2 separate regions of the Homo sapiens genome follow, and region 1 is linked to region 2. Evidence: promoter capture Hi-C in human tissues and cell types (Jung and others, 2019). All regions are on one chromosome and are shown on one strand. The core of a region is centred on a gene start or on the middle of the fragment in contact, and the rest is flanking DNA. Distances in the headings are between cores, read along the strand shown. Region 1 overlaps PSMD11 (proteasome 26S subunit, non-ATPase 11). Region 2 holds the start of RHBDL3 (rhomboid like 3).

Region 1 (6,223 bases), core at 2,500-4,999, 210 kb after region 2:
AGTGTTGAGATTACAGATGTGAGCCACTGTGCCTGGCAGAGCAGGTTCTTTATCCTTTCCTGACCTCATCAGTAGGTTGGTGGAGTTGACGTAGAGTTTTTTTTTTTTTTTGAGACAGTGTCTTGCTCTGTTGCCCAGGCTGGAGTGCAGTGACGTGACCTCGGCTCACTGCAACCTCTACCTCCTGGATTCAAGTGATTCTCCTGCCTCAGCCACCTGAGTAGCTGGGATTACAGGCATGTACCACCAAGGCCGGCTAATTTTTGTATTTTTAGTAGAGATGGCGTTTTGCCTTGTTGGCCAAGCTGATCTCGATCTCCTGACCCTCAAGTGATCTGGCTGCCTTGGCCTCCCAAAGTGCTGGGATTATAGACGTTAGAGTTTACAGACGTGAGCCACTGTGCCTGACCTCTTTTTTTTTTTTTTAAGACGGAGTCTCACTCTGTCGCCCAAGTTGGAGTGCTGTGGCGTGATCTCAGCTCACTGCAACCTCCACCTCCTGGGTTCAAGAGATTCTCCTGCCTCAGCCTCCCAAGTAGCTGGGATTACAGGTGCCCGCCACCATGCCTGGCTGGTTTAGTATTTTTAGTAGAGACAGGTTTTTACCATGTTGGCCAGGCTGGTCTTGAAATCCTGACCTCAGATGACCCTCCTGCTTCTGCCTCCCAAAGTGCTGGGATTACAGGCATGAGCCACCATGCCCGGCCTTTTTCTTTTTTTTTTTTTTTTTTAAGAGACAAGGTCGGCTGGGTGTGGTGGCTCACACCTGTAATCCCAGCACTTTGGGAAGCCGAGGCGGGTGGATCACTTGAGGTCAGGAGTTCAAGACTAGCCTGGCGAACATACGGTGAAACCAGTCTCTACTAAAAATACAAAAAATTAGCCGGGCGTGGTAGTGGGTGCCTGTAATCCCAGCTACTTGGGAGGCTGAGGCAGGAGAATTGCTTGAACCCACGAGGCGGAGGTTGCCGTGAGCTGAGATTGCGCCATTGCACTCCAGCCTCAGTGACAGAGTGAGACTCGGCTCAAAAAAAAAAATAAAGAGACAACATCTAACTCTGTTACTTAGGCTCAAACTCTTGGGCTCAAGCTATCCTCCTGCCTCAGCCTCTCAAAAGTGCCGAGATTACAGGAGTGAACCCCTGCACCTGGCTTTTTTTTTTTGAGACGGAAGTTTGCCCTTGTTGCCCAGGCTGGAGTGCAGTGGCGCAATCTCGGCTCACCGCAACCTCCGCTTCCTGGGTTGAAGTGATTCTCCTTCCTCAGCCTCCCGAGTAGCAGGGATTACAGGCATGCGCTACCACACCCAGCTAATTTTTTTTGTAATTTTAGTAGAGATGGGATTTGTCCATGTTGGTCAGTCTGATCTTGAGCTCCTGACCTCAGGTGATCCGCCTGCCTCAGCCTCCCAAAGTGCTGGGATTATAGGCGTGAGCTGAAACCGTGCCCAGCATTTTTTTTTTTTTCAAGAGATGGGGTCTTACTATGTTACTCAGGCTTGTCTCGAACTCCTGGGCTCACATGATCCTCCCATCTCAGCCTCCCAAAGTGTGGATTTACAGGTGTGAGCCACCGTGCCCATTTAGGTAGATGTCTAAGCTGCCTCCCAGCTCTGATCTTTTATGGCTCTATTATTTTATATGTTCTTATTCCTTTCTTTTCAATGCCCAGGTATTATCCATGCAGCAGAAGAGAAGGACTGGAAAACTGCGTACTCATACTTCTATGAGGCATTTGAGGGTTATGACTCCATCGACAGCCCCAAGGCCATCACATCTCTGAAGTACATGTTGCTGTGCAAAATCATGCTCAACACGTAGGTGCACCTTAACTCTGGACTACAAGAACTCAGATCCTTCAGCAAGTCTGTTTGCCATGGCAGAGATGGCCTGAGCAGGGAGTTTGGCCAGTTACAGAAACAGCAGCAGCTGCGGCCTCTAGGGCTGGCTAAGGTAGAGCGGGAGGATCAAAAGTGGTCCAGAAAACTTTCGCTTGCTAGTCTTTCAGAATCAGGCAGACATTTTAGAAATCCCCTTCCCAGCTCCTCTTGGAGAATTCTCCTCATCCTTTAAATATTCTGTCCTCATAGGTGCAGAGCACAGGACAGAGGGTCAGGAAATAGCTTACAGATCAGCCAGTAACAGCCAACTGAGCCACCCAGAATGAGGAAGGAAGGGTTAAGGAGAGGTTTGAAAAAGTGGACAACAAAAGTATGACAGACCTACTTATAAAGAAGTCTACAGAATTATTCAATTCTTTTGGGAATAAATGAAATATTGACTAAGAACTCTCTCTGGATCTTTGGATTACATAAGGGCTATGTTTTAATAATACCTGTTACACTGGGATTTGACTTAAACTTATAGTTCTGCTTGTTGTGTCTATTGCTTTTGGTAGGTTCAGTTCAGCTTTCTAACATTGGAGTTTTTCTACTCTTCAGGCTGAGCTGTGACCCAGAGTGGAGAAAACCTAGCTTTTGCAATGTGATGGGCATATGGGTTTAGGGGTTGGGCTGATTGTCTGTGTGGGCAGAGTCTTTATTACAATGGAATTCTGTTAAAAAGAAATTTGCCCAAACCTTCCTTTAGAAGCATAACATCTGCAGCAATTGACCAAGTATGTCTTTTTTTCTAGCCCAGAAGATGTCCAGGCTTTGGTGAGCGGGAAGCTTGCACTTCGGTATGCAGGGAGGCAGGTAGGGACTCCCTTGACTGCAGTTCTGCTCACTCTGAGACCAGCATGTTTTCAGAGTCACAACGTTTGATGAGACCAGCACTCTTCAGATCTTCATACTACTCTCTTCCTTCTGCCCCACTCACTTCCTTCCCTTAAGCCCATTCAGTGTGTTTCCCAGACTGTTAAATTCTTGGCCTGGAAAGTCAGCGTTTGGTGCTCTTATGGACATCACGTTGTTTGAGGGACTTAGGGAACTGAACTGTAGCATTTGCAGTGAGTTAGTTTGCATTTGGCTTTGACCAGAAGATTTATCTACCACGAGTCTGAGTTGTGAATTTAACATAGGCAGGGTATGAAATCTTAGATTCTCCAGGTTAGGAGCCTGGTAAGGTCTGGTGCATATGTGCTTTAGAGAGGTCTGATTGCTTGGTGCAGAAACTAGGTTTTGAGATTTACTTCTGTGCTTCTCAGATCAGTACCTTTCTACTCGTGCTTTGAATTTTGGGTGTGGTGCAAAAAGAGGCCCTTTTTTTTTTTTTGTTACCTTAATGCCCAAGTAGGTATGAGTGTGACTTCTGAGAGCAGACAGTTAGGACCTACGCAAAGATGACGTCTAGACTGTCTCCTCTTTGTATTTTGCTTGATTATCACTAGTAAAGTAAGTGTAATCTTTCTGGATTTCAACTGCAGTGGTCTCTAAACACAGACTGATTGGCTGTCTATATAATCTCACTGTATCTCTGGAGGAGTGGCCACATAGATGATTTCTTCCCTCTCTACAAGTGGCCCTAATTGGCTTTTTTTTTTTTTTTGAGTTGGAGTCTCATTCTTTCATTCAGGCTGGAGTGCAGTGGCGTATCTCGGCTCACTGCATCCTCCTCCTCCCAGTTTGAAGTGATTCTCCTGTCTCAGCCTCCCGAGTAGCTGGGATTACAGGCATCCGCCACTATGCCCGGCTAATTTTTTGTAGTAGAGACAGGGTTTTGCCATCTTGGCCAGGCTGTCCCAAACTCCTAACCTCAAGTGATCCGCCCACCTCAACCTCCAAAAGTGCTGGGATTGTAGGTGTGAGCCACTGCATCCAGCCACGCATCTTCCAGTATAGTAATAACCGGTACTCTTGAGGTCAAAACCAGGAGCTGACCTGAAACTTTTGCTGATAAAAAGCCAATTAGGGGCTGGACGTGGTGGCTCATGCCTGTAATCCCAGCACTTTGGGCGGCTGAGGTGGGCGGATCACTTGAGGTCAGCAGTTTGAGAGCAGCCTGGCCAATGTGGCAAAATCCCAGCTCTATTAAAAATACAAAAATTAGCCGGGCATGGTAGTGCATTGGTGGCTGTAATCCCAGCTACTCAGGAGGCTGAGGCAGGAGAATCACTTCAAACGGGGAGTGGAAGTTGCAGTAAGCCAAGATAGCACCACTGTACTCTAACCTGGGCGACAGAGTGAGACTCTGTCTTAAAAAATAATAAATAAGAAAGATGCACTACTCTCACTATAACTAGAGTTGAGGAGACAGGCTCAGGGACATCCAAGTGTTCAGGGCAAGGTCAGGTAGCTAATCAATGGTGGAGCTAGACTTTGAATTAGGGTCATTGGCTCTAAGTTCCAGGCTTTTCTCATTTTGACACTTTTTTCTGTCTATAGGACAAATGCTGGAGACAAACACACTAATGATTAGCCTTGCACCATGTAGTCTACTGTATAAGACACACTGTTCTTATATAAGCATGTAGGCTGATAAAAGAGCAGCTTCTCTTAGTCCCTTGCGCCTTTGATGTTAGCTTTTAAGCAGGAGATAGGCTAATCTCCCAGAAAGATGAGTGTTGCAGATTTTTTGCTGAGTGGAGACTTAATAGCTTGGTCAGGTGCCTTTTTTAACCATGTTAGAAGTTGTTCTCAACTATTGATTATACCTTCATCACTCTGTGGGGTCTTAACATTTGGTGTAATATGTTAATGCCGCAACCTTTTTTTGAGACGGATTCTTTTTCTATCACCCAGCTGCAGTGCAGTGGCATGATCTTGGCTCACTGCAACCTCTGCCTCCTGGGTTCTAGCAATTCTCCTGCCTCAGCCTCCCAAGTAGCTGGGATTACAGGCGTCCACCACTATGCCCGGCTAAGTAGAGAAGGGAGTTTCACCATGTTGGCCAGGCTGGTCTCGAACTCCTGAACCTCAAGTGATCTGCCCACCTCGGCCTCCCAAAGTGGTGGGATTACAGGTGTGAGCCACTGTGCCTGGCCTTGATGCCTCAGTGTTAATGAGGTAGACCTTGTTCAGTGCCTTGTTCCAAACCTAGCAGAATGAATCTTGATAAAGCACAGATATAATAGGGTCTAAGGGCAAGAAGGAGTTTGGGTGGATGTGGCGATAACAAGCCTTGGAGGAAGGGAGAAGAAATCACAGTTCTCTTGTCATTTTTCCTTTTAGCTTGTCATCTCTAGAGAATGCTATATTAGGGTCGGTCTGTTTGGAAAATTTCTGTTTCCTAGTATTATTAAGTCATTTCAGGTTTCAAAGGGAAACAGGTTGGCATATAGTGGTATTCAGTACTTGCGGCTCTTCTTCCCGGGCGTCTGAAGAAGAACGATGGTGGGGCGGGTTCTTCCTTTTGGCAGAAGTTGTGTGGACACAGCATACTGCTTATGAGACTTGGGTAAATGTTAGTGTGCAGAATAAATCGCTTTCATGGTTTGTCTCTTTATTCTCAGACAGAAGCATTAAAATGCGTGGCTCAGGCTAGCAAGAACAGATCACTGGCAGATTTTGAAAAGGTGAGTATGATATTGGGTTGGTATGGAATGTGAGTGGAAGAGAGGGACGTTTAAGTACTTCAAAACACACTTTTAAAAATAATTATAGTTTCAAAAGAAGTTGCAAATGATTCCATGTATCCTTCACCTAGGACAGTATTAAAACCAGGAAATAGTTAAGCACTTTGTACAATGAAACTTACTGAGTTGATATAAAATATATATTATTTATACATAATACCTTTCTATTTCAAAAGTTCTTTCTGTCCTTTTTTCACTTTGATTTTTCACAACACACCTATTTATTATCTGCATTTTATGGTTAAGGGAACTGGGATTCAGGAGGACACTCAAAGTCACACAGCATAGGGTCAGAGTTTGACTCTAGGCCTAGTGCTTGTTCCACATGACACAGTTGTAGGCATTCCTTCAGCTCCAGAAATGCCAGGTCTGCTCCTCTGTGGACAGAAGGGAAGTCTTGATGTGCGTACTTGGACCCAAAGAAACGTCCTCAGGGTGATGATCTAGGCTTTCTTTAACCCTGGTGCATTTTGCTCATTGTTTGGGAGTTTTGAAAAGGGAGAAAAGCCTGTCTGGGCATTAGGGTGAGAATTATATAGTCTTTCCTGAACCTCTCTCCTTTTAGTCTGAGTATAATGATCAACTTAATAAAAACAAAACCTAGATCCAGAGAGAAAAACTTAGTGTGGATGGAGACTAGACCATGTGGCTTTGACTGTCCCTGAGATTCACCATCTTCCTGGAGGGCTCTTGCCAATTCCTATTGCGT
Region 2 (6,663 bases), core at 1,358-3,857:
TAGGGACAGAAGGAGGAACAAGATAGCCTTCTGGATGTTTCCCATCTTCCCTCTCCCTTTTATTCTAACTGCTGCCGCCCTTGTGACCTCTTCCTTGGACAGCACCTCTCATGGCCCTCTGCTCAGGCCAACCTCCCTCCTGTCTAGACTCTACACTACAGCCAAAGGGATCTTTTTTGTTTGTTTTGAGACGGAGTCTCACTCTGTCGCCCAGGCTGGAGTGCAGTGGCAGATCTCGGCTCACTGCAAGCTCCGCTTCCTGTGGTCAAGTGATTCTCCTGCCTTAGCCTCCCGAGTAGCTGGGATTACAGGCGCCCACCACCACGCCCGGCTAATTTTTTGTATTTTTTTAGTAGAGACAGGGTTTCAACGTGTTAGCCAGGACGGTCTCGATCTCCTGACCTCGTGATCCGCCCGCCTTGGTCTCCCAAAGTGCTGGGATTACAGCCGTGAGCCACCGCGCCTGGCCAGGGATCTTTTAAATATTACTCTACTGCTCACAATCCTTCAATGGCTCCCTATTGCCCTTAGGTAAAGTCCAAGCTCTTTTCCCATGAAACTCACAGCCCCTCACAACCTTCCCGTCCAGGCTGGGCTCTTTAGATTGGTCATCGTGCTCCAGTTTCCAGCCATGCCAAACTGCTTGTCGTTTGCCTCCCATATGATGCTGCTCCACAAGCCTGGTCGTGCTGTTCCCTCTACCTGGAACACCTCCTTCACCTTTTCCATGTTGCCTAGTTCTGGAGGCTTATCCTTTGGGAAGCCTTCCTGGACCCACAGCGACCCCCTCCTTTGGAGTTCTACACCTTCTGGGCTTCCCTTGAATCCAGGACTTACCCTTGTGTTGAATGTGACTGTCACCCCCAATTATCCATTTCTGGAGGGCAGGGTCTGGTTCTTATCCACCTCTGTATTCTCAAAGCTCTGTCATTGGTACTTAGTAGGAGCTTAATACATGTTCAGGAACAGAACTGAGCCTGCTAAGCTCCCTTCCCCACGAAGGGATGACAGAGTTGGATATGTTGATAAGAGCTGTCCCTGGGCTGATGAAGAGGCAGCTCCCTGGGTAGCTGGTATCAGAACACTGTCCAGGGTGGCTGGGCATCCCAGCAGAGTGGCCAACCCTTTTCTGTGCCCTTCTCCTTCCAGTTCCCCTGGAACCAGACTTCCTGGCCCACTTCTCTAGTCCCAGAGATCTAAGTATAACAGAGCCAACACCCATACCGGTCATGCAAATGACAGCCTGGGATGCGGGAGGCAGCGACACAGACCCCAGGGCCCCAGCGGTCATTTGTCCTTCTGGGCTCCTCTTCACAAAGGAATCAGCCTCTCTTCTGTCCCCTGAAGGCTGTTTTCAAAATCACACCCCATGCAGACAGTTTTATTTACAAGGAAATCTTGGCAGGATCTTGACTTGTTAGTAGAGTAGGGATGGGGAGGAGGGTGGTGAGAAACAAAAATAGTTGAAATGATCACACTTTCTGAAACAGAGATGAAAATTGGTGTCTGTAGCAAACTCACCTAATTAGAATCAAGTGAATTCCCTTCTCGGTGTTTAAGGGGAGCAGTCATTGCTGGGTGATGGTCGCAGTTCGGATCCTGGGCACGGGGTTATGTCTTTGCTTTCTGAAGATGACTGCATTAGTTGCAGCTCTCACTAATGGAAAGGAGCCTGTTCCGTTTCCCAGAGGAAGGAAGAGGGCAAAGACTAGTGAGTGAGTGGGTGGTGGGAAGAGGAAAGCAAGAGGAGTGGAAGGGCACAGCCTTGGTGTGGGCTGGGGACTGACTGCGAGATGCCTCCTGGAGAAGCTCCTGAGCCTCTGGGGAGAGCTGGCCCCTGCCAGGCCGGCCACTAGCACCATTTACAGCCAGAGCCTCTGCTTCGGGAGATGGTCTCTCTTGGGGGCGCTTTCCTGCAGGGAAACAGCATCGATTGTTTTCTTTAAAAGATCCCCTACTCCGTTTTGGCTAACTTCCTTTCTGATTGCTTTAGTTTCTTTACCGTCCCTCTCCCCAGATGGGGCATTTCCCTGGGCTTACCTTTGTCCATGTGGTCAAATGAAGCCTGGGCATGGTCACTTAGCTCTGGGTGTAGGAAGGGCAAGATTTAGGCTTTGGGGCCCACGACCCCGCAATCTGACTTCTCCCATTTCTGGGCCTCCCGAGACCTCCCAGAATCTGAGACCGCAGTGAATAGGGCGTAAGGATAATGGGGCGGGAGGCAGGAATCCCGTCCTTACAACATCGCGCCCCCAATTCACTCCTAGTTAACCCTGACGTCGCCAACATAGTGTCTCCATCACATATCTGCCACCTCCAAGTGATGGTTAAGCCGATGGAAGAGCCAAGCCCGGGCCCGGAGTGCAGGCCGGTGGTGACCGGGCCGGGGACGGCGCAGTCCCCATCCCCGCCCCGGGCAGCGCCACCACTTCCTCGCCAGCCCCGCCGCAGCCCTCCCGCTCCCGGGCCGCGCCGCTCTGACCGACTGGGCCCGGGTGGCGGCGCCCGGGGTGGGGTGCGGGGCGGGGGCCGGCGTTCCCCGCGAGCAGCCCCGCCCCCGCCCGCGCGCCGCCCCCGAGGACTCCGCGGGGAGGAGGAGACTCGGGCGCAGAGCGGGGGCCGCGAGAAGCGGGAAGGGAGCGCGGGGAGCGGCGGGGCCGGGGCCGGCCCAAGGGCGCCCTCGCCTCGGAGCCGGGCGCGAGGGCCGGGGCGGAGGCGGAGGCCGGCGGGGCAGCTAGCGCAGTGAAGTTTGGCGGCGGAGGGGCCGGGCGTCCCGGGGTCGCGAGGAGGCGGCGGCGGCGCGGGGACCGGGGCCATGGGGGCGGGCGCGGGCTGCGGAGCGGGCGCGGAGGCGGCGCGGCGCGCACTGAGCCCCTGGAGCGGCGCGGCCGCCGCGGCGCAAAGTTAGCCCGGCGCCCCGGGACGAGCCCCGCAGCCGCCGCCGCCCCCGGACCCCGTCTCGGCCATGGGCGAGCACCCCAGCCCGGGCCCCGCGGTGGCCGCCTGCGCCGAGGCGGAGCGCATCGAGGAGCTGGAACCCGAGGCCGAGGAGCGGCTGCCCGCGGCGCCGGAGGACGTGAGTGCCCCCTCCCCGCCCGGCAAACTTTCTAGGGGGCGCCGGGGGGAAAAGCCGCCCCTGTCTCGCCCCACGCCGGGCAACTTGGAGGTTTCAGGGTGACGCGGGAGCGCCCCGGATTGGCCGGGTCCCCGCGGGCAGGAGGGGGCGGAGGGACCGGTCTCCCCGAAACGCGCGCGCACCGCTTCCCCCGCTCTGGTTCCCGCGGCTTCCCTGCGGGACACAGCACCGCCACTGCGCCGCGGACCTGTCACCGCCGGAGCCCCCTCCCCGCCGCTGGTGCAGTGCCCGGGACACGGCGTTTTCCCGCAGAGGCGGCCGCGTCACGGCGGTGACTCCCCCTCCCCTCACGCCCGCGACCTGCGAGCTCCCGGAGCTGGGGAAGGAGCGGACGCCGCAGAGTCCCCGTCCCTGGCCATGCAAGCCGGCCTGGCGACCCCTTCCTCCGCTCCCGGATTAGCTCCCGCCCGGCACCTGCCTTGCCGCGACACTGATTGAAATTCAAGCCGGCCCCCGCCTCTGACCCCGGCCGGAGCAGGGAGGCAAAGAGTGCTGGGAGCGGCTTTGCTCCTAGAAGGAGGCCCGGGAGTCCAAGACCGTGGCGGTGCCAGGGGACGGTCCCCTGGGCGAGGAGAGGGAGGGGCTGCCCCGAGGGCTTCCCCGCCGTCTGCTGCTCGGGTCTCCATCCCTCCGGTCCTGCGGGCCGGCCCTGCGAAGCCCTGGGAACTGGAGTTTCTTGGGTTAACCTCCCGGGGCTAACCTACACATAGGGGTGAAAAACCGGGCAGACACCCTGCCCTGCCCACTCCTCCCTCAGGGTGGGGAGATGGAAGTGAAACCAGGCCCCCAACCCACACAACGAAAGCGGGAAAGTCTGAATGGGGTTGGGGGGTAGTTTACGATCTTCTCTCTTTGGCGTCTGCGGTTAAATCTATCACTTCCTTCTGGCCCTAAACCCCTGGCAGAATCTGATGTAGTCACCACTTAGACTCAGCCTTGGAAGAGAATGGGTGGGCTTCACCGCATTCGGCATTCACCACCCCCCCTTCCCCGCAAAAAAACAAAAAACGAACAAACAAACAAAAAACTGCAGGCAAAATGTTAGTGTTTATGCAGAGGTGAGTTCTCCTGGGGGGGGAGGGGGGGGCTCTAGCTCCCAGCAGGTGAGACTCATTGCGCCGGGGTCTGATGGAATTGCACCTGGCCATGCTCTCCCAGGCCTGGGAGTAGCTGTGGACATAAGCTTTAGGCAGCAGAAATTATTAGAGGCGCTTGGACATATTTGGACGCCTTTATTTAGTAATTGTTGAGAATCACTTGTTCTGCCAGTTCCAGAACCAGCAACACCCACCTTGCCGCCCCCGCCCCCACCCCATCCCTTACTGTGAGTTTCCTCCCTCTGCTCAGTGTGGACTCATTGGGGAGCTCCTCCCAGACTTCCCCTGCTCTCCTGTGGCCAGTCCCTGAGCCTGGTCATGACTCCTGGGCAGCCGCTGGGAGGCTATGTCAGAAACATCCGAGGACTACAGAGACCTTGGTGATAAGTGTGTCTTTCTTTCTCTCCTCTTCTTCCTCTCCTGCATGGCCTCCCTCTCTGCCAGCACTGGAAAGTCCTGTTTGATCAGGTATGTGAGCAGTTAACCCCCCATTTCCTTCCAGCCCTCCCTGAAATCGGTCTCAGTCTCCCTGCTTGCGTGGGCTTCCCTAGCTCCGCGCTCCTGAGATGGTGACGTGGGGTGGGGGTGTGGCTTTGTGCATCTCTAGGGCTGAACGACACTGCTCTCCAGGTATCAGGAGGAAGAGATGGGCTCCCCTGAGAGGATCTCCCTCCTGCCTCCTCCCTACTCTGCTGCACCAGAGCCGGGTTTACACCATGTAGAAATTGGACGTTATATATTGAATGCCTGGGAAATCCTCCATATGCCAGGGGATTGCAGTAGGGGGCTGGAGAGGTGGGGGAAGGGCTTGGGCTGACAATCCCTCTCCGTTTCTACCTCCACTATGGAGGGTCCATGGCCACCGCTGAAGTCAAATCTCTGCCATCCTTGGGGGCTGACTCACAGTATGGACTCTTTTGAAGTCTAATTCAATGTCTTTAATTCTGTCATAGGGATGAGGGAGTGCTGGGAGGTTACAGAGGGGAAATTGTGTGTGATTCTTCGCAATGCCTGGAGTCCAGGTGTAGGGCATGGAGTTGGGGGTGCCAAGTATTGGCTTTTGAACCTGGAGATGGACATTTGACCTTCAGCAAGGAAATGGTTCTCCTCTTAGCATTCGTGGTGGGTGCTGTTATGTGCTTCCTTCTCCCTCTTTGCCCCATGTTGGAGGATAGTTGAGTGCTATAGTCCTGGGGTGAGAATGATTGTGCCATGAAGTTTGTGCAACTTTAAGAAATTGGTGTGAGTGGGCCAGAGGGAATGTGTTGGGTAGGAGAAGGAGATAAAGCTGAAAAATTAGCTTGAACCAGGACTTCGTTGTAGGCAGGGGAAGCCTTAGAAAGTTTTTTAGCAGGGTTGTTATGTGATCCAAGCCAGGCTTGGGAAAGCTCCAGTGTCTTAGGGGATAAGGAGTGAATGGGCTACGGGGATGAGGGAAGCTAGGCAGGAGCTGCAGCACTGAACAGAGGCAAGAAGGTGACAGTGAGGATGGACGGGAAGAGGGACATGGTGATGGAAGAATTGGAAGATCTTAATAGACCGTAGGTGAGGGGAACCACATATCTAACTTTGAGATTCTGAACCTAGGAGGGAAAGAAGTTGGAGTGGGGCCAGGTGTGGTGACTCACGCTTGTAATCCCAACACTTTGGGAGGCTAAGGCGGGAGGATCACTTGAACCCAGTAGTTCAAGACCAGCCTCGCCAACAAAGTGAGACCTCATCTCTACAAAAAATTAAAAAATCAGCCAGGCATGGTAGCACACTCCTGTGGTTCCAGCTACATGAGAGACTGAGGCAGGAGGATTGCCTGAGCCCAGGAAGTTGAGGCTGCAGTGAGCCACGATCGTGCTACTGCACTCCAACCTGAGTGACAGAGTGGGACCCTGTCTCAAAACAAAAACAAAAAACAAGTTGGAGTGAGGAGAGACGTTTGGCAAAAATGACAACTTTGGTTTGAGACAAGTTCAGTTAGAGGAGCCAGCCGGTTGCAGATGCCGGAGTGGGCGTGATGACACGGAATTGCAGCGCGAAAGGCCTGGGGTGAGGATTTGGGGTGATCATCCACATTAACCACGAGGTCTGGCTGTGGTTTGAAGTTCAAAGCATGCACTGGCTCCTGTCCTGACGGGTAGAGCATCTCTCCCTCTGGCTCCTAAGAGTACAGCAGCTGCTGGCCTGATGCCCCAAGGCAGGAGGGAGCCCGCTGCGCCACTGCCACCACTACCACCAAGCTGCCAGCCCTTCACACCTCCTGCCAGATTTAGAATCAGAACCTAGAACAAAGTGTATCATTCTTTTTTTTTCTCTGTCTGTGTCTATCTTTTTCATTTGATTAATTTCCTTTGCCAGTCCCTGTGTGTATGTGTACATTTTAAAACAAACCATTTGGGTGAAAGGAAGAGAGCTTTTAGTAGGAAGATTTTGGAACTC

Evidence for each region. The method cuts DNA at HindIII sites, captures the fragments that hold promoters and counts their contacts. A contact is called where the count stands out against the background at its distance.
Region 1: a contact is called between a fragment that was not itself captured here and the fragment with the promoter of RHBDL3 in region 2, in 1 of the 25 tissues and cell types used here (dorsolateral prefrontal cortex).

The regions. Positions count from the first base shown.
Region 1 is chr17:32,472,130-32,478,352 of GRCh38, forward strand. PSMD11 (proteasome 26S subunit, non-ATPase 11) reads left to right here. Exons shown (of 14, transcript NM_002815.4): 7 at 1,672-1,816; 8 at 2,635-2,695; 9 at 5,392-5,454. Among named protein-coding and RNA genes, the nearest start is that of CDK5R1, 12 kb to the right of the region's middle. The HindIII fragment of the contact is 5,751 bases long and covers 875-6,223 here.
Region 2 is chr17:32,263,225-32,269,887 of GRCh38, forward strand. RHBDL3 (rhomboid like 3) reads left to right here and starts at 2,608. Exons shown (of 9, transcript NM_138328.3): 1 at 2,608-3,076; 2 at 4,678-4,701. The coding sequence starts at 2,966. It overlaps LOC105371731 (a long non-coding RNA gene), which reads right to left and starts at 2,227. Exons shown (of 3, transcript XR_934665.2): 1 at 2,041-2,227; 2 at 1,522-1,672. The HindIII fragment of the contact is 17,639 bases long and covers 1-5,842 here.